Regions from separate parts of the Homo sapiens genome. Here regions 1, 3 and 4 are each linked to region 2. The links are contacts of gene promoters, found by promoter capture Hi-C in human tissues and cell types (Jung and others, 2019). All regions are on one chromosome and are shown on one strand. Each heading gives the region's core, a stretch centred on a gene start or on the middle of the fragment in contact. The rest is flanking DNA. Distances are from core to core; before and after follow the strand shown.

Region 1 (6,342 bases), core at 1,156-3,655, 170 kb after region 2:
TCAAACATCCACTCTCTTCTTTCTGAGTAGAAAACACTTTTTGAGAGTCTCAAAATATAAAAGGAAAAGTAAAAAAAGACCATCTCACCAGAGAAATCCATTAATGCCCCAAATGCTGTTTGCCATTTCACTGGTTCACGAGACCCCCGCCACACATCTGTGCACACTCAAAGGAGCCATGGAACCCAAACAATGAACACAATTCTCTTCTCCCTACTCTCTACATCCTGCAGCTGCATTTTTAATTTAAAAATATCTGGCTGGGCACGGTGGCTTACGTCTGTAATCCCAGCACTTTGGGAGGCCAAGGTAGATGAATCGTTTGAGCTTAGGAGTTCAAGCTCGGCCTGGGAAACATGGCAAAACTCTGTGTCTACAAATAATGCAAAAAAAAAAAAAAAGAAAAGAAAAAAAGTTAAGTCAGGCATGGTGGTACTTGCCTGTGGTCCCAGCTACTCAGGAGGCTGAGGTGGGAGGATCGCTTGAGCCCAGGAAATCGAGGCTTCAGTGAGCTGTGGTTGCACCACTGCACTCCAGCCTGGGCAATAGAGTGAGACCCTATCTCAAAAGAAATAAATAAAAATAAAAAATTATATATATGCTTAAACCTTGTGTGTTCTTCTTTTTTTGGAGACGGAGTTTCCCTCTTGTTGCCCAGGCTGGAGTGCAATGGCGCAATCTCAGCTCATCACAACCTCTGCCTCTCGGGTTCAAGTGATTCTCCTCCCTCAGCCTCCCGAGTAGCTAGGATTACAGGCATATGCCACCACACCCAGCTAATTTTGTATTTTTAGTAGAGACGGGGTTTCTCCATGTTGGTCAGGCTGGTCTCGAACTCCCAACCTCAGGTGATCTGTCTGCCTCGGCCTCCCAAAGTGCTGGGATTACAGACATGAGCCACCGTGCCTGGTCCAAGTGCTATTTTTTATTTACCAGAAGTGCTGTTGAGCGCTTTCCTCAACTCCCCCTCCATGGAATGTGCATACACACAGCAGCAAAGGTGAATTGGTATCATTAGTAACTGGCGTGTTTTCCTCCAGGGCCCCCAACCCTGTACACTTCAAGGAAAGGGTTAACAGGAGAAGCTAAAGGAACATTTCCTGCCAAGCAGCCAAAATGATAACTAGTCCATTCAGGGACTAGACTCATGACTCTCCGTCAAAGTAAGTGCCCACGTCTGCCAGATTTCCAGAAACTGTGCACCCACAAATCATAAGACCTAGGGATACGTTTGTATAATAACCAATTCTCTGTCTACTGGCTAGTCCATATTTCTGTTATATTGGGCCTTGATTATTAAATCTTCATTTATCTAAGAAAGTCAAATAAATTAACTACTTTTACAACTGGATCAGAGTTCCTGTTGATCAAGAGAATATAATGGTTTAAATCAGCTTTGTAGGTAATAATTAGATCTTAACTATGCATATTAGATATATACTCTAATTAGCTTAGAACATCCTAAGTGGGCTTCTTAAGAAGCTACTATATTCACTCAAGCTATATTTGTTTAGCAACCACGATGAACCCCACATTTTAGTTATGTGGATTATCAACCCAAGAGCCATACAAATCAGCCCCTCCTGGCAGCAGGGCCAAGGCTACTTTGTGCCAAAAGCTTCCTGTATATTATTGCTAACCTTCACAATAACCCTGCCGTGGAAAAATCCCTACATTTATTTATTTATTTATTTATTTATTTATTTATTTATTTATTTATTTTGAGGCAGAGTCTCACTCTGTCACTCAGGCCAGAGCGCAGTGGCGCGATCTTGTCTCATTGCAACCTTCGCCTCCCGGGTTTAAGCGATTCTCTTTCCTCAGCCTCCCAAGTAGCTGGAACTACAGGCGCGCATCTCCACGCCTGGCTAATTTTTGTATTTTTAGCAGAGACAGGGTTTTGCCATGTTGGCCAGTCTGATCTCAAACTCCTGATGTCAGGTGATCTGCCCGCCTCAGCCTCCCAAAGTGCTGGGATTACAAGCATGACCCACCGCTCCCCGCCTGCAAATCCTACTTTTACAGTAATTGGTTTTTAAAAAAAATAACTTCAGCTATAATCTTCAAAGTAATGAAAACATCTTAACGTAGCTATTTTTCTCCAAGAAAACCTACATTAGACTGCCTTGTCCCCATGTGAGACAGACGTGCTGAACAGATTTTATCTGCCTTCCTTACCGTGCTGGGCTGCCCCCTCCCCTCTCACTGTCAGGCTGTCAAATTCGAACTTCTGCTGTCATCACATGTGCCAATAACTGCTCCCTTCCTACCACTTTGCCACTGCTGAGCTTCAGGCCTTAGGAATCACATAAACAGGCTTGTTTAAATTACATGTTTAATGGGAGTTAATGAGGGCTCACGGAATAAAAGGCAGAGCCTCTGTGGAAGGGCTTTGTCGCAGCTGCCTTTGGCCAGCACCCCCCTCCTTCACCAGCGGGACGGAAGCCCCAGGGTTGAAATGGCTGAAATGGCTGGAGGAGCAGACCCTGCATAATGACCCCCAGGTGGATCTTTACACCATGTTTATGATCAATTGCATCTTTTATACTTAGTTCTCCACATTTGAGGGTCACTTACCCATCACTGCTGACAAAGGGACAAGAAATTACTCTATATTACTCTATATATTTCAGAAATGATTTACATAATACATTAAGGAAAATTTAACTATAAAAACTGGAGGCACCAGAATAAATTACTAGAGGAAGTTCTAGAATCATCTCCTTTGGGAATTCCTAAGTCAAATGCCCATGAATTTGGAAAGATTTATCTATGCTTCTACCAAGAGTCAAAGGAATAGACTGAATATATTTGGAAGGTTCTTGCCATAAGACACAATATTTTATGTTTCAGCATATACTGGCATCCTGAAAAAGGAGTTTATCATAAATGAAAGTTGGAGACTTAATAAAAAGTGTTAAAGAGGACAGGATATAGGATTAGACAAACCTTTCAACGCAACCAGGCATGTAATTGCTCTACTCGCCATCTGTGTAAAATGCCAGCCAAAAATAGGAACTAATTTCAAGTGCCATCAGTTTTTTGGCCTCACAGGCCACAAATGAGCACTGTGACTTTTCATTTCCATGTGTAGCTTGCCTGCCCTGTCAAACCTAGCAAAGAGAACAAGAGAGGCAGCACCCTGAAGTTAGAAATCAATGGGAAAACACGGCTGGATTGCAAGCGCCGCTGGGGTTGGCTGGTTTGGCTGGGAGTGAGGTGCATAAACAGAAGGCATGTGAAAAGAGACAAAGGTGCAAAGAGAACCACATAGAGCACAGAAGAGGACTACTCTCAATGGTGTCACGTTCTGAAGTGGCCCTGCCTGGGCTGGGAGCAGTGAAGTGTGCCTCTCATCAGATTACCACATGAATCACCCAGACAACCCACAGGGACCTTTAGCTTAGGACAGCGTACAGTAGGTTTTCCAACTGTCATCTCCTGTGAATAATTTAAGAGTACACTTAAATGGAAATCTTTCTATGAGGTAATTTGTACACACGAATAATGAAAGCTTATCTCAATATCAAAAGTAAATACTTTGAGCCAGATATTTATAATTAAAAAAACAAAACAACCAAACGGTATTACCCCCAGGACCACAGCAAACACATTCCCCATAGTACATTAAATCCTTCTTCCTTTATCCACCTTTCCACCCACCAAGGAATGAAACAAGTGATTGTACTCTAGAAAGAAGTCATGGAAGGCAAAACGCAGCTAATTACCTAATCAGCGCCGGCCCCGTTTTCAGGTTGCCCTCAACTACCACTGCTTTAAAACTTAAAAGAAGGAAAAGCACTGACTTCTCATTAAACCCTGGCTTTAAAAGCCACAGTGCCTTCAACGGAATTAATAGTGTTGTTCCCCTCAAAGGGAAAGACTCAACACAAACATTTATGCATATGTATCACCACCAGCCCAACTCCCACCTTTCAAAGTCTTCATGCCTGAAAAGGGCGAACAGATCTGACATCCTAAGCCTTAGCTGCACTGTCCCCATGGGATCACTTGATACAGAAGCAATATGGCAGATTATTGCTCTCAGTCCCCTAAGGTGCAAGGGGACAAAGGATGTCGCTGGTAAAGAAGCCGCCACTGACACAGAACATGGACGTCAGAGGCTTGGTAAGCAGTACATAACCAAAAATGCAACATCTGTACCAACTTTCACCAAGAAAATGTCCCCAACCTAAGGAGTTCAGATTACAAGAAATCCTAAAACAGCATCAACTTTGAGATTCTTCTAATATAAGAAGACCAAGGGCAAACTTATTCTGAGATCAAAATAAAATTCCAAATAAATAACTTTTTTAAAAATCATGACTTCCTTTGTTCTTGATACCTTTCCTGTAGCCTCTCCAGTGATCACTGTGGTTATTATTTTTTTTAATCTACTCAACCAGTTTTTCTTTTTTTTTGTAAATTGTATTAAGCACTTAAAATCATAGGAGATCTTATTGAAATGCAGAGTGTGATTCAGGTCTGGGGAAGGGACTGCAATTCTGAACTCCTAGAAGCGCCCAAGTGATGCTAGTGCACAGACTGTATTTAAGTTAGCACAGTGCTAGACTATAATGCCCCTGAGGCCAGGAAGCTCATCTGTCATCTTCCTGTCCCTTACAGCAGTGGTCCCCAGCCTTTCTGGCACCAGGGACCAGTTTCATGGAGGACCATTTTTCCATGGACAGCAGGGTAGGGAGTGGTTTCAGGATGAAACTTCCACCTCAGCTCATCAGCAGCATGAGATTCTCATAAGCAGTGTGCAACCTAGATCCCTGGCATGCATGGCTCACAACAGGGTTCGCACTCCTATGAGAATCTAATGCCGCTGCCTGTCTGACAGGAGGTGAAGCTCAGGCAGCAATGCTCGCTTGCCCACAGCTCCCCTCCTGCTGAGCCGCCTGGTTCCTAATAGGCCACAGCCTGGGGTTTGGGGACCCCTGCCTTATAATGCCTTATACACAGCCAGCATTTAGCCAATGTTGGTTGACAGGGTGAAAAAAATGGAACCATCCATCATTTCCATGTTACCTTTTTATTTTGATCTTAACAAGTTTCAGCGTAAGGAGATAATTAGGCCTTTATAGCAATCATTCCTTTATCACTAAATCACAAAAAGCAAAAGTAAAATGTATAAACTGGCAAAAAGTATACAACCTGAATTAAAGGGTTAATAATAAAACCCCATTCATATGGCCATACTGTTTCACTTTGGGAAGAAAGAAGCTTATTAACTGATAGGCGTATGCTTTTCTTCATTTATTAGGACATCTTCACTGCTTCCATCCACGAGAACTTCAGAATCCAATGATCCAGACCAGCCCAGTGCAATCAACAGTGAGCCAAATCAAAAAGCAGCCTACATTCTACCTGATAATCCACACACAGGCTGGGATCTGCTGGGTTCTACTAGGTGAATTGAATTGCTCCATGCCAGTGGAAAATTTTTTCACATCAGTTTTTCCTAGTAGATGTTTAAAAAATTACAAAGAATTTTCCAATCGACCTTACGTGACCTTTTAAAGCATTTATTCTATTTAACTCTATCTTTAAAACTATACTCACTATGGCTCTATAGTGCTTACACCGAATATATCTGACTTTTAACGTTCTATCAATTCAGCCTACTTTTACTGTGCTACTCCTACATGCTAAATATATGTGACACATTGCTTGATACAAGCAGTGATTTCCAGTGAAGCAGATGAACCTTACTTTTAATAATCTATTAACAGAATTGAATATAAAGTAACAAAATTCTTTAATCAGGAGCATCCAGGAAGCAAAAATATCGAGTACGTTTCCAAACAAGGAAAGAGACAGAAATGCAAATACATATATTTAGAATTATTGCAGCTAGGCATCAGTATGTGCATCACCTCCAGAAACGGCAAAGAGCCCAGTTACAGGGATCAGTTCAAATATTTATTGATCTCTTGCTAGGAGATGGGCCAGGCAGACTGATTCTAAAGCACAAAAGATAGGGCCCTCCCCTAGAGGAGTATAAAATGTGTTGTAGGAGACAGATATGCACAGTTACTTTCAACATACTGCAAAAAAAGAAATACAAGAAACAAGTAGTAGGCCTGAGTCAAGCCTCTGGGCTTGAGTAATTTCTTCGGGATGAGATGTACTCTCTAGCTGAGTTTTCTAGCAGTCGGGAGATTTAGCCAACCAGTGGTGTGTTAGTAAACTGGCTCTCTGGGGCGGGGATGAGGGACGTGGGAAGCCATGACTTATAATACATATTTGCCAGTTTCCATGATATAAAGCCTCCCACCATGGCCACTTTCAAGCTACCAACAATTTAACAACCAGCCTGCTAAAATCTTGAAATTA
Region 2 (5,951 bases), core at 945-3,444:
TGTGCTTACCGAGTCAAAAAAGAGACACAGTTGATTCACAAGCTGAAGGTTGGAACTTGAATAGAACCCTAGGCAGGGCAGTGCCCCCCTGCCCGGCCCAGGTGCCACTAGGCACAGCACCAGAGTAAAAACTCAACAGCGGGGAGGCCGGACCCTCGAGGTTTGGGAGTTTAAGCACCCAACTTCTGGCTCAGGGATTTGGGGAGTAGGGTAAACAAAACCTACTTGGAAAAGAATTGGGGAAGAAAACCAAAAATTGCCTTCTGCAGGGCTGGGGACAGGGAAGGAGGCAGGGCCAGGGAAAGGCACATTTCATATCACTAATCTAACTTGGGAGGCTGTGGGGGACCGTCTTCAACTGGCCTTACGAGGAAAGCCACATGGCCGATTGGAGAATCCACAGGAGGGAGAGAAGGAAAGGGAATGTAGCTGGTAGGATGCAATAGCCCCTTCCTTTCTGGGCACAGGAGGGCAGCCAGGGCACCAGGTCCAGGCAGTAACCTCACAAGAACAGCAGTTTTTGCAGCTTAGAGATCACCCACCTGGCCCACCCAGCTACTCATTCTGCTCAGCGTGGGCTGGTGTAGGGCCACTCTCCGCCCCGAGGGAGTGGACAGCTCTGTAGCTTGGGGCCCTGCCTCTTCTTCTGAGGCAGTACTGCCTCTGCGCCCTTGGCCTGGGGCTCCTGGCTCTCAGGGGTGGCAACAGCCTTCCCTTCCTGGGCAGCGCCCTTGTCGCTGCAGGCATTGATCTTCCCCCACTCCTGTTCTTCCTCCATAGGTGAGGAGGCAGAAGAGTCACCCCACCCTCCTTCCCATTTCTCTTGAAGGACAAGCTGCTCTTAGAAACCCTTCTTGAAAGATAATTATTTATTTATTTATTTATTTATTTATTTATTTATTTATTTATTTATTTTAGACAGGGTATCACTCTGTTACCCAAGCTAGAGTGCAGTGGCGCAATCTCGGCTCACTGCAGCTTCGACCTCCCCAGGCTCAAGCCGATCCTCCCACCTCAGCCTCCCGAGTAGCTGAGATCACAACCCCAGCACACTCAGCTTTTTTTTTTTTTTTTTTTTTTTTGGAAGGCAGCTATGCTCTCCACTCTACTATCAACGCTATTTTATTGTATTTTTGTAGAGACGGGTTTTCGCCATGTTGCCCAGTCTGGTCTCGAACTCCTGGGCTCAAGCGATCACCCCTGTCTTGGCCTCCCAAAATGAAGGGATTACAGGCGTGAGCCACCGTGCCTGGCCTTGAAAGGCAATTTCGTCTTCTTGGAAGTCTCCTTGCGAGGGAGGGAGCCTCCCCTTTGGCCTCAGCACCCTGGCTAGGGGGTGCTGGCTCCATGGCATTGCCAATGGTCCCGGCTGCCTCTTCTGTTCACAGGGGCCTACTCCCCTTCACCCTTGGGGGATGTCACCATTGCTTTTCACGTGGCCACCCTCCTGTCCGTTGGCTTTCGCGTGGGGAGTGCCTGCTGCCTCTGCGGCGGTCACGTCGCCCCGGAGAGCCTCGGAGCTCTGGCTGCCCACGATGGGAGTCCTCTGGGGGGCGCCGGAGCCGTGCCGGGTCCCCGCCGCAGGGGACAGTAACGCGGAGTCGGCCTGGCCGGCGGAAAGGGGGTGCTGGGGAACAGAGCCGCACCCCACTCGGCTCGGGAAAGCCCTGGTAACCAAAATTCTTGAAAAGCACTAGTGTCTGGCCTCGGCACTAACTCTCCCCGAGTCTCGTTAAGCCTGCGGGGATGACTCAGAGGGTCTGGGGTCCTGTCGGGGAAAAGTTCAGAAACCAGAACAGTTCCAGATTCTCTCCATGTGTCTGTGGTCCCACCACCTCCTCCGCAAGGGACCCTGAAAGCTGTCTGGGACCTAGGACAACTTCTTGGGATGAGTACGGCCATTCGCCCTGGCTGAGCCCCAGGAGTGCGGGCAGGGGCCGCGGGGGTCGGGTCGCCAGCCGCCACCTCCTGCCTTTCTCTGCCTGCGGTGCGCTGGGACACCCTCGAGGCGGCTCAGCGCCCGCGGTTCCCAGCGCGGGCGGGGCCGCGGCAGAGGTTCCCAAACCGGTTGCACAGAAACAGCGCCACCCCCTACTGCCCGCGGGGCCACCTGTGTGTGCCTTTCCTTCAAAAACAAAGGCGGGGCGGGGGCGGAAGTGCCTCAAAAGAAGGCGGGCCGAAGCGAGGTGCGGCTCCCTGTCGCCGCGGAGGGGCGGGGGCAGGACGCGCAACTCCGGCCGGAGCTGTCCGGGGTCGTGAGCCGGCCCCGCCTTGGTGGCGGCGCCCCCTCGCGGTCCAGAGGCAGACGCATCGGGTGGGCTCGGGTCTCCAGCCCGGCCGGGAGGAGGGACCGGGTCTGCGGAGCGGGGACTCGGGGCCTCGGCGGGGCGCGCACACGCAGGCGGGGCGGCCCGGGGTGCGGGGCCTCTGCGCGGCTGACCAGGCTCCCAGAGCGTCAGCGCCGCCCATGGCCGAGCCGCTCCAGCCAGACCCCGGGGCGGCCGAGGACGCGGCGGCCCAAGCTGTGGAGACGCCGGGCTGGAAGGCCCCGGAGGACGCCGGCCCCCAGGTAGGCGCCGACTCGGGAGCGGAGGGGCTGGGCCCGCCTTCCGGCTGATTTGCAGTGAGGCCAGCGGGTCCCATAGAGTTAAGTAAAAAGTACAGTTTTTTAAATGGTCCCAGTCCCTACCCACTATGCTACGCAAACGAGAAACCCCGGTCATTTAGCTCTACCCTCCCCGCTACCCCCAGTGCAGGTCCCATCTCAATTTCTTGTCTTTGCGGGGTGGTGGGGCGGGGAGGAACTGGTTACGTCCCAGAACGCGCGGTGGAACCCTCCGAACCGAGGGGGTGTAATAGATGCTTGTCTGAAAGTGTGAATCGAGTCCCCAGCGTGTGGGGTTGGGGCCGCTGCGGTCCCTAATCGCAAGGAGGGGAACCTCGTGGAGGGGAACCTCCCAGACCTAAGGAGCGGGGACCTCAGGCCGGACCCCGGGGCGGTGCAGCCCCTAGACAGGACGGCTCCAGGTCGACCCGAGATCATGGCACCGGTATTTTTGCATCTCACTCCTACCCTCTTAGAATTGCTTCTCGAAGTTTTCTCTGTTCCACTTTAGCCCGGAAGTTATGAGATCCGACACTATGGACCAGCCAAGTGGGTCAGCACGTCCGTGGAGTCTATGGACTGGGATTCAGCCATCCAGACGGGCTTTACGAAACTGAACAGCTACATTCAAGGCAAAAACGAGAAAGGTAAAAGCAGTTTTCCTTGTAATTATGCATATTGTGAAAGAGTCCCCGGGCTTATTATTGAGTTTTAGCTTATTAAAGAAATATCCTTTATAATGGAAAAATAAGCAAGTCATCAAAGACTTGTCTTGTTTTCAGACAAGACTCCTCAGGACCAGGGTTACACTGGGTATTACTTTTCAACCTCTGTTCTCTGATTTTGCTGGATGAACTGGGGTTTGGTGTAACTCGTGATAAGTCCTTTTCTATGGCTAACACCTCAAGATAATTTGGTGACTGGTAGGATCAGAGACGTCAGGAGGCAAGAAGGTACCAAGATTAGAAGCATCAAGTCATAGCTTTTGGTCTGGCTTTGCTGCTATTTATATTTTAGCAGGTCTCTTAGCCTGTGGGACCTCATTTTCTGAATGGTAAGAAAAAATAATTTACTGACCATGTAATCTCTAATTTCCCCTTTTATCTCTAAAAATTAAGAATTTATTAACCCAGAATATCAGTATTACAGAAAGTGGTTTAATGTGGGCAGTGAGCAATTGAGTAATTTTGGCCTTACTGTTTTAAGATGAAAATTATCTTAAAGGTAAATATGTCAACAATGTGAAGTAAATCAAGGAACCCAGATCAAAAAAGAATAGGTTAAATGTTTAAAGCTGTCAAAAATACACTAAATTTGCTTTCATTTTTATGTCACAGAGATGAAAATAAAGATGACAGCTCCAGTGACAAGCTACGTGGAGCCTGGTTCAGGTCCTTTTAGTGAGTCTACCATTACCATTTCCCTGTATATTCCCTCTGAACAGCAATTTGATCCACCCAGGCCTTTAGAGTCAGATGTCTTCATTGAAGATAGAGCCGAAATGACTGTGTTTGTACGGTAAGTGGTAGATAATTTATAGCCTTGCTGACTGCTAGTTTTACTTGCGTGCACTCACAGTTTAGCTCCAATGCAATTTCAAAAGGCTTTTTCACCCTTCCATAAAATCAGGTCTAATGCATTTTGTGATGTTTTCCTACTGGCTTTGTTGTATATGTTACTGAGGTCTGTCACAAGATAATAATCACTTCATTTAATGAGTCTATTGCATGCCCTTCATATAAGACACGGTGCAAATTATATGCTCCCAAAACAAAAGACTGCAATATAGTTAGACCTGAACAAAAATACCTTAAAACAGAAGTCTTAGTTTGTTCAGGCTGTTGTAACAAAATACCGTAGGCTGGGTAGTTTATGAAAAACAGAAATTTCTCTCTCACATTTCTGGAGACAAGGAAGTTCAAGTTTAAGGTGCTGGCAGTTTCAGTGACTGGTGAGGGCCCGTTTCCTGGTTCATAGATGGAACCTTCTCAGAAATGCCCTCATGTGGTGGAAGAGGCAAGGCAGCTTTATTGGACATGTTTTACAAGGCTCTACCCTCATGACCTAATCACTTTCCAAAGGCCTCATCTCCTAATACTATCACATTAGTGATTAGGTTTTCAAAATATGAATTTTGAGGCCCAGCACTTTGGGAGGCTGAGGCAGGTGGATCACTTGAGCCTGGGAGTTAGAGACCAGCCTGGGCAACATGGCAAGGCCCCATCTCTACCAAATGTATATATATATATTAGCCAGGCCTGGTGGCACATGCCTGTGGTCCCAGCTACTTGGGAGGCTGAGGTAGGAGGATCACTTGGGCCCAGGAGGTCGAGGCTGCAGTGAGCCGTAATTGCACCAATGCACTCCAGCCTGGGTGACTGAGACCCTGTCTCAACAAAAAGAAAAATGTATATATGAATTTTGGGGAGACACAAACATAGAGTTCATAGCATTCTGCCCTGATCCTGTAAAATTCATATCATCTCACATGCAGAATACATTCATTCTATCCCAATAGCCTCAAAAGTCTTAATTCATTCCAGCAAAAGCCTAAATTCATCTAAAGATCATCAAAATCAAATCTGAGGCTCAAGGTACAGTTCATCCTGCGGCCGATTCCCCTCCATCTATGAACCTGTGAAATCAAACATATTATATGCTTCCAAAATACAATGGTGGGACAGACATAGGATAAATACTGCATTCCAAAGGAAGAAATGGGAAAAAAGAAATGGGTAACAGGTTCCAAGTAAGTTCTAAATCTTCAGATTAATTTTCTTTGACTCAAAGCTCTTCCCTCTGGGCCCACTGGGATGAAGGTCCCACTTGTGAAGCTCTGCTGAACAGAGGTTGGGCCCCCAAGGCTTCAAGTGGCCCTGGCCATGGCTTTGGATGGCCCAACCCCACTGCAGCTCTCACAGTTGGAGGGACCCCACCCTGCAGCTCTACCAGGCTCGAATTGCACACCGGTGGCCCTCCCAGTCTGGTGTGCCCGGCTCCCATGGCTCTGTTAGCCATTTCCCTATTGGGGACTCACTGCAGTAGCTTGGTCTCACTGTGGCCCTCTGCTTGGGTCACATACCCAAGGCCCTGGGCAGCTCCATCCTTCAAGGTGGAGGTAGCCACACCCCCACAGCTCATGTACTGACAGAGGTCGGCACCACATGGATGCTGCTGAGGTTAACTGCCTGTGCCTTCCGGAGGGACAGACATCACAGCCCAGGCCACACCTCAGCCCACTGGAGCTGAACCTGGGGCATCCAAGGAGGGCTGCACTGGAATGCAGGAAACAGATTGGTGAGGCAGTGCTAGGCAGTGAGTTCCAAGGCCCCCCAGGTGCCCAAAG
Region 3 (6,716 bases), core at 2,137-4,636, 230 kb before region 2:
ATTTGGAAGGAAGAGAATGAAGATATACAAAACAGAAAACATTGTGATGTGGTAGCAAATGTAAATTTATTATAGACTTTTATACATTTAAGGAGGTTTCAGTTTGTGATTCACAATAGTGGGGAACTTCTCAAAGCCTCTTCTAAGATACAAGAAGAAGCCATAATTAGAGCAGAAAAGAGATTGAATCAATACTAGTCTGATTTACTATTCCATGTTATCATTAGGGAAATGATATAAAGAGGAGACATACAGTAATGGGCTTTTCCCCCTGTGTTGTAAATCAGTCCTTCTTTAATCCTTTGATTCCTCTTCCAGGCACTTTAAACCAGGAGAGCATTTACTCTGTTAAATCATTATGTTTAACATGGCATCCTTCTATTTGAGCATCTGCTAAAAAAAAAAAAAAAAAAAAAAAAAAAAAAAAAAAAAATCCAGGCACTGTAAATATTTGTCTGCTCATTGAGGAGAATTTGGATATGTTATTTTTTCTTCCATTATGCTTACATTTAATATATGGGAAAGAAACCAAGTTTATAAACTATCTCTTGCATTCTTCTGATTTTGAATTCAGATTTAGTTTTCATTTCTGTTACATAATCACCTCCAGGTGATTATTTGCAGATTTTTAAAATTGTTTGTTTTGGAAAGGGCTACAGGGATCATTCATAATCTTGAATACCTTTGCTCTGCTTTTTCCTATTTTTTTCTTTTGCCACTTATTTGTTAATTTCATGTTAAATATAGTCCCATTCTCATAATTACTAATATTGTTTTGGTCAGTTGTGTACGTTAGTAGTGGTAGCTTAAATCAGAAGAACCCTTGAAGAGCCTGTGTTGAAATTGAATCCTTGAGAGACCTATGTTGTATTATTTTTCCTTTTGCCATTGATTGCTCTAAGGACTTTTGAATGATTTAAGTGACTGGTGACTGGATTCAGTTATGCATAAAGCATTCTAAGAGAGATATTGATGATCAAACATATTAGATGGAATTAAGGAGGTCAAGAGACATTACTTATTTGTGCTCAAGGCTCTGTCACTGATGAAATGCTCACTCTTATTGTTGATGTGGTGAGCAACAAGGGTAGGAATTAATGCAGAGCCTATTGATATTCAATGCCAGGGAGGGAGGCAGGTCCAGGGAATATGTACTATGGAATATTTCATGACTTTATTAGTGGCTAGTCATGTGAAAATCTTTCCACCTTCCTGCCCTTAGTCTTGCTTTTGATTTGGGGGTGAGTTTTAAGGGTCCTTATCTTCCTCCATGAGGAGACTGCACCCTTGCTATCTTTGCTTCTCTTTTCCCTTTTCTTAAACTTCAAGGTCTCCTTACATGCATCTTTGCAGGGTTGAATAAATCTATGAATTAGTGGGCTACTCAGGTATCCCTACACCGAAGAAGCCATCGATAGCTCAGGTTATGTCTTAGATTAGAATCATCCTCCCCATGTCCTTTTTGCTTCATAAGCAAAAGCCCACTCAGGATGTTCCCTAATAGTGACAGATTTGGTGAAAAATATGACCAAGTACAGTTGCCACTGATAGTCACTGATTCCATCATAGCTATCCACTGGTTTTTCAACCAAGTAATATCATAAGACTTGGAGGCTACCGATCAAGAACAATTAGAATATTCTGCAGTTGTTGAGTAGAATATTGTGTAAATGTCTGTTAGGTCCATTTGGCTTAAAGTCCAACTTAAGTCCAATGTCTCTTTGTTGATTTTCTGTCCTGACAACGTGTCTAATGCTGTGAGTGGGATGTTGAAGTCCCCTACTATTATTGTATTGGTGTCTATCTCTTTCTTTAGGTCCAGTAATATTTGTTTTATGAATCTGGGTGCTCCAGTGTTGGGTACATATATATTAAAATTGTTATAGTCTCTTGTTGAATTGATCCCTTTATCATTATATAATGACCTTCTTTGTCTTTATTGTTTTTGATTTAAAGTCTGTTTTATCTGACATAAGTATAGTGATTCCTGCTTACTTTTGATTTCCGTTTGCATGGAATATCTTTTCCCACCTCTGTACTTTCAGTCTACACATGTCTCTACAAGTAAAGTGAGTTTCTTATAAGCAGCGTATAGTTGGTAGTTGGATTTTTTTTTTTTTTTTTTTAGACGGAGTCTTGCTGTGTCACCCAGGCTGAAGTGCAGTGGTGCAATCTCAGCTCACTGCAACCTCCACCTCCTGAGTTCAAGTGATTCTCCTGCCTCAGCCTCCCAAATAGCTGGGACTACAGGCACAGCGCCACCACACCCGGCCAATTTTTGTGTTTTTAGTAGAGACGGAGTTTCACCATATTGGCCAGGCTGGTCTCGAATGCCTGACCTCGTGATCCACCCGCCTCGGCCTCCCAAAGTGCTGGGATTACAGGCCTGAGCCACTGCACCCAGCCTAGTTGGATCTTTTTTAAATCCTTTATGACAATCTATATATTTTAAGTGGAGCATTTAATGCATTTACATTCAAGGTTAATATTGGTATGTGAGGTTTTGTTCCTGTCACGTTGTCATTTAGATTCTTTGTTTTTTTCTTTTTCTCTGTCTCTGTGGTTTGGTGGAATTCTCTCTTGTTGCCATTCATTCCTTTCTCTTCTCTTAATCCTTTGATTGCTTTATAAGACCTGTGAGCTTTTGTGTTTTCATAATGGTGAATATCAGCCTTTTATTTCCATGTTTAAGACTCCTTTGAGCATTGCTGGTAGGCCAGTCTAGGGATGATAAATTCTCTTAGCATTTGCTTGTCTGGGAAAGAATTTATTTCTCCTTCATTTATGAAGCTTATTCTTTCTGGATATAAAATTCTTGGTCGACATTTTCTTTTCTTTGTTTTTCAGCATTTTGAAAATGTCATTCAATTTTCTTCTATCTAAGAGGTTTCTGCTGAGAAATCCACTGTTAGTCTAATGGGGTTTTCTTTATAGGTGACTAGATGCTTTTCTCTTGCTGATTTTAAAATTCTTTCACTTTTACTTTATTTATTTATTTATTTATTTATTTATTTATTTATTTATATTTTTTTTGAGACACGGTCATGCTCTGTCACCCAGGCTGGAGTGCAGTGGAGCAATCTCAGCTCACTGCAACCTCTGCCTCCCAGATTCAAGCAATCCTCCCACCTCAGCCTCCCTGTAGCTAGGACTACAGGCATATGTCACCACACCCAGCTAATTTCTGTATTTTTTGTTTGTTTGTTTGTTTATTTGTTTGTTTTGGTAGAGATTGGGTTTCATCATGTTGCCCAGGCTGGTCTCAGACTCCTTGACTCAAGTGATTCACCTGCCTCAGCTTCCCAAAATGCTGGGATTACAGGCATGAGCTACTGCACCTGGCTCACTTTTACTTTAGACAGTCTAATTATAATATGCTGCAGTGAAGTCCTTTTTGCAATGCATTTTTCTGGGAATTGCTGGGCCTCCTGTATCTGGAGGATCTGTCCAAATTTCTTGCCAGACTTGGGAAATTTTCATCAATTATTTCCTTAAAGAGATCTTTGGTCTTTCTCTTCCCTCAGGAATACTGATAATTTGTAAGTTTGATTGCTTTATATAGTCCCAAATATCTCAAAGGCTTTGTTCATTCTTTTTTCCTTATATTTTGCCTCACTGTATTATTTCAAAAGACCTGCCTTCAAGTTCTGAGATTCCTTCTTCTGCTTGGTCTAGTCTATTACTGAAGCTTTTGAATATATTTTGTAATTCCTTCAATGAATTTTTCAGTTCCAGAATATTTTTAAGATGTCTATCTCCTTGGTAAATTTTTCATTCATATCATGAATTGATTTTCTGATTTCCTTATATTCGTTTTCAGATTTTTCTTGCATCTCATTGAGCGTGTTTAAAATAAATATTTTGAATTTTTTATCTGACATTTCAAGGATATCTTTTTGGTTAGGATTTATTGGCGGAGAATTACTGTGTTCTTTTGAGGGTGTCACATTACCTTACTTTTGTATGCTTCCTTTATCTTTGTGTTGATTTAAATGCATTTGGAGCAAGGGTAGCTTCCTCTTTCTGAATTTGTTTTTGTTGGGCAGGGGGACTTTTTCTCTCGAAGATGTGACTATGATGTTGGTCGGCTAGGGTTTTACTGAAGGCATTCCCTAATCCTCACCATTCTTATGTCCTAGGCCATCTCATATAATGAAATATAGCATACTTGTCATGGCTCCTCTTCCTTCCACATGCCAAAGCCAAGACCAAAACCACAGGTCTAGAGGTGTTTGAATAAGTAGCCCGATAGCTCCCCTGCATGTTGAGCACTAAAATGTTAGGGGAACATGTTCTGGGCTGCTCTCTTCATCAAAATTGCCCAGTGTGTGTCTTATAACATGCAGCCTTTCTCACTTCCTTATCCTACTTATCCTTGAAGACTGTGCTGAGATGTCCTGAAGTCCTTCCTTAATTTCCTAGGTAGAAATTATATTTCTCTCCCTTGTGTCCTCACCGTTCTTCTTACATAATCCTGTCGTGAAGCTCATCAACCACGTTGGCAGTTGTTTGCAGGTTCTATTCTCAGACCCTAGCCTCAAGGAGCTCATCTAGACAAATTACTCATCTTTGTATCTCTTATGTCAGTGCCTTATAAATGTTTGTGGGATGAAACTGCTTCTCCAGCTTTACATCACATGTCCCAGAAAGCCACTGCCTTCATCTCCTAGATTCTTAGAAAATGCAGTATTTGAAAGAATCTGTGCCAAAATGGAATCTCAGCTTTGGCAATAGGACTTCTAATATCTTACTGACTGAGAAGGTCGGTCTAAAGAGTATACCCAGAAGCCCAACACTCAATTCATTGACCTCAGCTAGTGTAGACTTAAATCCTGTGCCCTCTACTCAACTAAAGCCCTGCCCCACCTAATGTATATTAGATAAGGGGTGGGGGATGGTGGTGGTAGTAATCAGGACTCTGACCAATATTCTATGCCAAAGGATGCTAAAGATACAAAGTTTTCAGTTCTCAGTAGATTTCCATGAAAAGTCCTTGGCCACCCTGGAAGAGGCATACTGCCTGTCCTACCTCCACCTCCAACATGAATTTGACTTGGAGTATTTATGTTCTAAAGGACTGAAGAACCTCCACTCCTATCCTGTCCCAATTCAGGATTGTCTCTTTCTTCCTTCCAGGTCACTTGCAACAGTACTGGTCCAGATGAAATAAAACTGTCAAGGGAATCCTGGAGCTATTTTGTCAAAAGGCAGCCATTGGCAGCAAACCTCTTGTTGGCATTACTCAGTGCCCCTTTGGGAACAATCCCAGTGATTACCCTAGCCATAACCCAGCCATTTTGCTTACCTGCTCCATGATTTTTCAGAGCCAACCTCAGCCTAATTGCTTTCTCTTGCCAGTTGTACTTTCCAAAAAGATTCTAACAGCTTTTTTTTTTCCCATTTGTCTTTGTATGTGTCCCACCACCTCTCCTCCCTAGCTGACCCTCTGCCTGGCCCTTTGCTTCATTTTGCCTGCCTTGTCCAGACACTTCATTCAGTCTAGATAATGACATATTCCTCCTCGTCTTGACGTGGGGACCTACTGATTTTTCATGCAGGGTGTGAGCACATTCATCAGTGTTTATACTTGGAGAGAACCATCCATAACAGCTTCCCATTTCTCATATGGTTTTACTTTAATTGCCTTTATGCTGCATTGATCTATTTTAGTGCTTTAATTCTGTGCTATGAACCCTGGAGCGACTTCTGCAAGATATGCAAGTTTTTTTGGTTGTTTTGTTTGTTTTGTTTTTTAGAGACAGTCTCACTCTGTTGTTCAGGCTGGAGTGCAGGAGCACAATCATAGCTCATTGCACACTCAAACTCCTGGATTCAAGCAACCCTCCTGCCTCAGCCTCCCAAGTAGCTAGGACTACAGGTGTATGGCACCATGCCCAGTTAATTTTTTTAAAATTTTTTGTAGAGATGGAGTTTTGCTATGTTGCCCATGCTGATCTCAAATTCCTGGCTTCAAGCGATCCTCCCACCTTAGCCTCCCAAAGTGTTGGAGTTACAGGTGTGAACCACCAATGCCTATCAGTTTTTTGGCTTTAATGTGAAGAAAGAAACATATCTGCATCAACTGGGAAGAACTTTGTATGATTTAACATGATGAGGACAGCAAATACCCCAATAGCTGTTTTTGGCACACAGTTTGATTCTCATCAGTATTTTTCCTGCCTTTCTTACGTCATGGAGAAGTGTTGGACTCCCCTTGCTACCTCCCACTGCCATGGAGGAAGCAAAGGATGCTGGTGTAGAATTTGCAGTTCATGTTTTCAGCTTGTGCTAATGAATGGAGGATCTGAGCATACATGCTGGACAGGTACTTCACATTATTCTAGGTAGATTACAAACATCTGTGCTTCTCTTGGATGTAAACTCATCTCGAGTCTCCTTTTCTTGCCTTCTTCCTTTTCTCCCTACTATAGCTGACTTCTCTTTGCAGAGTCATACAAATGTAACTGAGTTTTGGCCCTGTTGAGTCAAACTCTGTTGAGTTTTGCTGGTTACCATAAAAAAAAAGGCGGGCAGGTTGGGGGAGCTTTAAGACACTTTGGTTAGTCCAAGCCTGGCTCATTTTCAGATTTAGCGAATTCTTTATCCCAGCAAGCTGTGAAAGGCAATGTGGGGAAGACATTGTCAGCCTTTCTGGGCTCAGTGGGAACCTTGTAAGTGAGCAAGGGCTTGTTCTAGAGGAGAACTGAACTTTTCTA
Region 4 (6,239 bases), core at 1,568-4,067, 250 kb before region 2:
GGCTTTTCTAACTGCCAAAGGAAAAAGAAGAAGAAGAAGAAGGAAAACATATGCCATAGTATGATATAGGGCTCTTTCTCGAACTTTTCTAGGAATTTCTCCAAAATGAGAAGGGCATTCAAATGCCTGAGAATGGAGAGCAACTTGTAATTACCTGTATACTTGCCTTTATGCACAGTAAGAATCTATGTAATCAAACTAATCTCCGTGAATAACGTGCCTATGGGAGAATTTATTCTTCACTTCAAATTGGAACTCTAAGAATATATCTCCCTTTACTGTGTACATAATATCAGAACTGGAGATTCTCCCTGTTCCAAATTATTTATGGAAGTTCCTGTGGCCTATTGTGGAGTCTTTAAGAAGGGAAAACCTGGGGAATGAATGGGGATGAAGTACGGAGCATTCTAAAGAATGAGAATTTCTTGTCAGCATAAAACCTCTGAGGTGACTTTTCTGAGTCATATCCTCAGTTATTCCCTCCCTCTTCTTTCACAGGTTTATATTCTTATGTTTCCAATGTCATTATCTATAGCTGTATCCATGTTTTCTTCTGCCTAAGTTACTGCTAAGTAGATCACAATCTCCCAGCTCCTTTACTTTCACGTCTGTGAAGAAGTTCATGTTCTTTTATGGTTTTCTAGAGGATTACTGCTAGCAATAATAAAAAGCAATTTAATAAAGAGCATTCTGCCACATAATTGAGACACACGCACACACACACACACACACACACACACACAGAATTTAACATTTCTATGTAGACAGTCATGACAAAGTTTTTTAAAAATGACAAAAAATTGCAACATTTATATGACAAAAGTTACTATCCGTAATATACATATAGTTCTTATAAACTGATAAAAGAGCTATCTGATTTTTTAATGGGCCAAGGACATAAACAGTCAGAGAATAAACAATAAAAATAAGATGTTCAACTTCATCTTTTAGGTTTAGTTATGAACTAAAACAAAAATTAAATATATTTTTTTCGACCAATAAACTGGCCAAGGGGAAAAAGATCTTCAGTACATGGTGATGCTGAAGAGAGAATACAGGCTCTCTGTGCACTGTTGGTAGACGCAAACATTGATGTTCCTTGAGCTGAGTCTGACAGTATGTTGCCAAACCCTTTAACCATGTAAACTTTTTTTCTTATTTCATGAGTTTATTCTATTAAAAACAAAACAAAATAAGCTTTAAGAATGTAAGCAGTCTTTCTATATTCAATTATTAATAATCGATACTTCAACAAACCTAACATAGCATTGATCATAAGATGTATCATTATTCTATGTACTACTATGGAAGAAAAAAATGTCAAACTATAGCACAATCCTTTTTATCACTTAGAATTCTCTTAAAATGTTCTAACTGACATGTAATAATTATACATATTTATGGGGTACAGAGTGATATTTTGATACACGTATGCAGTGTGTAATGATCAAATCATGGTAACTTGCATATTCGTCACCTCAAATATTTATCATGTCTTTGTGTTGGGAACATTTAAAATCCTCTCTTCTAGCTATGTGAAAATATAAAATAAATTACTGCTAACTATAGTCAGTCACCCCACAGTGCTATAGAACACTGGAACTTATTCCTTCTATCTAGCTGTAATTTTGTAACCCTTAACCACATGTTCCCTATCCCCTCACCCTCTAGTAATCACAATTCTACTCTATATTCCTATGAGCTCAACTTTTTTAGCTCCCACATATGTGTGAGAACATGCCGTGTTTATCTTTCTGTGCCTAACTTATTTCACTTAACATAATGTCCTCTAGTCTCATTTGTGTTGCCAAGAATGATAGGATTTCATTCTTGTTTATGGGTGAATCGTATTTTGTTTTCTACATATATCACATTTTCTTTATCCATTCATCCATTGATGAACACTTACATTGATTCCATATCTTAGCCACAATAGTGCTGCAATAATCCTTTCATTTTGATAAATACCCAGTACTGGGAATACTGGATCATATGGTAGTTCTAATTTTAGTTTTCTGAGGAACCTCTATGTTGTTTTCCATAATGGCTGTACTAATTTACAATACCACCAACAGTAGATGAGTTTCCATTTCTCTGCATCCTCACTTTTTGTCTTTTTGATAATAGCTATTCTAACGAGGGTGATATGATATCGTACTGTGGTTTGATTTGCATTTCCCTAATGATTACTAATATTGGGTTTCTTTTTTTATAGACTTGGTGGCCATTTGTGTGTCTTCTTTTGAAAAATGTCTATTCAGGTTGTTTGCCCATTTTTTTAAATCAGATCTTTTTCTGCTGTTGAGTTTCTCATATATTCTGAATCTCTTGTCAGATGAATAGTTTGCAAATATCTTCTCCCATTCCACAGGTTGTCTCTTCACTCTGTTAGTTGTTTCCTTTGCTATGCGGAAGCTTTTTAGTTTTATATAATCCCATTTGTATATTTTTGCATTTGTTGACTATGCTTTTGAAGTCTTACCCATAAAATCTTTGCCCAAATCGTTTCCTCTATGTTATCTTCTAGTAGTTTTACAGTTTTGAGTTTTACATTTAAGTCTTTAATCCATTTTGAGTTGATTTACGTATATGGTGAGAAATAGGGATCTAATTGCTTCTCAGCCTTTTGGCTAAGATCAAGTGGAGAAACAGGGATCTAGTTTCATTCTTCTTCATATGGATATTCTGTTTTCCCAGCACCATTCATTAAAGAGGATGTGCTTTCCCCAGTGTGTGTTCTTGGAACCTTTGTCAAAAATCAGTTGGCTGTGAATATCTGGATTTATTTCTGGGTTCTCTATTTTGTTCCATTGGTCTATGTGTGTGTTTTTATACCAGTGCTATGCTGTTTTGGTTACTACAGCTTTGTAATATGTTTTGAATCAGGTAGCATGATGCCTCCAGTTTTGTTCTTTTTGGTCAGCATTGTTTTGGCTATTGTGAGTCTTTTGTGGTTCTATACAAATTTCAGAATTTTTTTCTATTTCTTCAAAGAATATCATTTGTATCTTGATAGAGATTGCATTAAATCTGTAGATTGTTCTGGGTAATATGGTCACTTTGACAATATCCATTCTTCCAATCTATGAACATGGGATGTCTTTCCATTTGTTTGTGTCTTCATCAATTTCTTTAATCAGTGTTTTACAGATTTTATTGTAAAGATCTTATGCCTCCTTGGTTAAATTTATTCCTAGGTATTTAAATATTTTTGGCAGCTATTGTAAAGGGGGTTGCTTTCTTGATTTCTTTTTCAGCTAGTTTATTATTAGTGTACAAGAGTGCTATTGATTATTGTATGTTTGTTTTGTATTCTGCAAATTTGTTGAATTCATTTATCAGTTCTGAAAGTTTTTTTGTAAAGTATTTAGGTATTTTTATATATAAAATCATGTTATTTGCAAATAGTGATAATCTGACTTCTTTTTCAATTTGGATGCTGTTTATTTCTTTCTCTGGCCTAATTGCTCTAGCTAGGATTTCTAGTACCATGTTGAATAAAAGTGGTGAAAATGGGCATCCTTGTCTTGTTCCAGTTCTTAGAGGAAAAGCTTTCAAGTTTTCCCCCATTCAATGTGATGTTAGCTGTGGGTTTGTAATTTATGGCCCTTGTTTTATTGAGGTATGTTTCTTCTATACCTAATTTGTTAAGAGTTTTTATCATGAAGGAATGTTGAATTTTATCAAATATTTTTTCTGCATCTATTGAAGTGATCATATGGATTTTGTTCTTCATTCTGTTAATGTGATGTATCACACAATCATTTGCATATGTTGAACCATCCTTGCATGACTGGGATAAATCCCACTTGATCATGATATATAATCTTTTTGATGTGCTGTTGGATTTGGTTTGCTAGTATTACATGGAGGGTTTTTGCACATGTGTTCATCAAGGATATTGGCCTGTAGTTTTCTTTTTTGTTGTGTCCTTGTCTGGTTTTGGTAATGTGGCCTCATAGCGTGCATCCTTTTTGACTCAGCACTTCCCCCTTCTAGGAGTTTACTCTAGGAATATATTCTAATAGGTAGGTAATACAATAACCACAGCAATGTTTACTGAAGTCTTGTTTATAATAGTAAAAGCTGGAATCCAACAATATAGATGGATTAAATAGTTTTCTAGAGTTATACAACAGAATAATAAGCAGCCATTTAAAAGGAAAAATTGCCTGTGACAAACCATAGAGTGAAAGGAAGCAGAATGTATAAGACCATTTACATCATTTATATAAAAGTTACCATATGTACAAATACATATACGTCTACATATACAGATATGGCTATCAAAACATTTAAATTTTATTAACAAGCAGGTGGCAGGCATTGTGAGGTTATTGTTTATAATGTTATGTATAATTTTATATAGCCTTACTACTGTTGTGATTTCCTTTTCCCCGTCACCTTAGTTCCTCAATTCTAATTGTCTTACTCCAATTTTTGTCTTCCCAAATATCTCTAGGTCACCATATTTAGCTTGACTTCTGTGCACTATGAAGTGAACTAGCAAATGCTTCAAAGAAAGAAAGTAGCAAATAACATCAGGCTCACTTCTGTACATTCTCTGTCTCTCTAAGATCTTGTTCCTTCAAGTCCTGGCTGCCCTGGTTGTTTAGATGCCTTCAAACAGCTCCTCTTAATTTTTTAATCCAGATTTATAACTGCTTTCAACAGTAAGTGGTTCTGATACAAGCTGCTGTATCATAGCCAGAAGCAAAAGTCCAATTGTCTCATATTTAAGGGCATATTAATTATTGCTAAAATAGGAAATTATTTTGTAAGTAAAGAGATAATTTTTAATGTGAATAATTTTTAGTATTACCTGTTTTGTGGGTATTTAAAATTTTTCCTTGAAGAAAGGTATACAATATTTTATAGAAGTTACTTAAAAGTATTAAATATAATCTTTTAAAAATGCTGATCATAAATAGTTGTATAAACCATATTCAAATTAAATACTTTTTCACTCATCTAAATTTAATTCAAAATTGAATGTAATCCAAAAATATGCTTATTTTATTTTCTGATTATACTGCTGCATATTTGGGTATAATTTTATATTGCAAACAAGTTTCTTTACTACTGTATTCTGTGAATCAAGCATTAGAGTAAGTGAAAAGATTGACGATTTGAATATCAGGTAAAACAAGCATAACAGAGATTTGAGCTGGAAGTACAGATTTAGCATCATGAACCTAGGTGGTCAAGATCTGAAGCAATGGCAAATTCAGTAGATATTATCAGATATGAAAATTTTGTGGGATTGAGACTGCTTCCCAAGCATTCACAAATGGGGAACTACCTGGGTCCTCCACACTTCATAGAAGCCTTCTACACATCCTTAGTCAGCTCTCTTTCTTATTTTCGAATTTTGGGTCCTCTACCTGTTCATTTCTCCTCTTACATTCAGCATATGTCTTCTTGTTTCATAAGCAAAACAGAAGTCACCAGGTGTAGCTCCCACAAATTCCTGTCTCTACATCAACAACTAAACAATATAAAAAATCAGCTTTCTATCTTCATGCCCCACTCATATCCGTAAATTGGCCTTCATCCCCTAACTGGGCAATGACTCTGTCTATACTCTAGGTACCCTCTTTCCCATCTTCTTAGCATACTTGTTTCCCCCATTAGGCTGGCATCCTCCTGCCTTTTTTCAACCCTGCTTTTATGTCTTTTTTTCTTTCACTGTATAAATATACTCCCCACCACTAGGCTGTTTAATCACAAATTTTCCTCTGGTCTGGTGTTTTCCAAATTTCATGCTTCTCCCCATGAGTGGGTTGTGAAATTAATGAGTCTGTTTCATAAAAATATATTAAGAAATGAATTAGTATGGAACCTACAATATCAGAATGCAACACGTATATTCCTAGCAGGAGGTGTCCACATTGCCACAAATCCTGCAGACAACTGAGTTGAGTGACAGCTGGAGAATGAGAGGTAATGAATATATGCATTGGCTGGGAACTGCCAGCCAGTCACTCTTCTGCTCACTGGTGTCTCAGCTGATTTTTTGGAATTGATCATAATTGTATCAGGAGAGTTCATGTTTTATAGTTTCATTTTATGTCAATGTAATTTATAGCTAATTATAAAGTGAGGTTTAGAAGAACTTTATCTAGTCTTGGCAAAGGCAGGAAGACTTTCCACCAAGGTTTGGCTATGAGTTAGAAGATTTCAGTGTGCTTTTTGAATTAGGCATAACTGTCAGGCATTTTTCAACCTTGTGATAATTG

The links. The method cuts DNA at HindIII sites, captures the fragments that hold promoters and counts their contacts. A contact is called where the count stands out against the background at its distance.
Region 1: a contact is called between a fragment that was not itself captured here and the fragment with the promoter of HEBP2 in region 2, in 1 of the 25 tissues and cell types used here (pancreas).
Region 3: a fragment that was not itself captured here is called in contact with the fragment with the promoter of HEBP2 in region 2 in 1 of the 25 tissues and cell types used here (aorta).
Region 4: a fragment that was not itself captured here is called in contact with the fragment with the promoter of HEBP2 in region 2 in 1 of the 25 tissues and cell types used here (dorsolateral prefrontal cortex).

The regions. Positions count from the first base shown.
Region 1 is chr6:138,574,287-138,580,628 of GRCh38, forward strand. It overlaps a transcript of NHSL1 not described here. Among named protein-coding and RNA genes, the nearest start is that of NHSL1, 78 kb to the left of the region's middle. RefSeq lists an enhancer at 2,396-2,896. The HindIII fragment of the contact is 3,932 bases long and covers 440-4,371 here.
Region 2 is chr6:138,402,029-138,407,979 of GRCh38, forward strand. HEBP2 (heme binding protein 2) reads left to right here and starts at 2,195. Exons shown (of 4, transcript NM_014320.3): 1 at 2,195-2,569; 2 at 3,117-3,252; 3 at 3,943-4,123. The coding sequence starts at 2,468. It also overlaps the pseudogene MARCKSL1P2. RefSeq lists enhancers at 889-1,409, 1,931-2,451 and silencers at 1,611-1,680, 1,811-2,660. The HindIII fragment of the contact is 23,421 bases long and covers 1-5,951 here.
Region 3 is chr6:138,174,075-138,180,790 of GRCh38, forward strand. All of the region lies in intron 2 of ARFGEF3 (ARFGEF family member 3), which reads left to right. Among named protein-coding and RNA genes, the nearest start is that of ARFGEF3, 15 kb to the left of the region's middle. RefSeq lists an enhancer at 1,465-1,634. The HindIII fragment of the contact is 5,909 bases long and covers 433-6,341 here.
Region 4 is chr6:138,149,717-138,155,955 of GRCh38, forward strand. No RefSeq gene overlaps it. Among named protein-coding and RNA genes, the nearest start is that of ARFGEF3, 9.1 kb to the right of the region's middle. The HindIII fragment of the contact is 4,449 bases long and covers 594-5,042 here.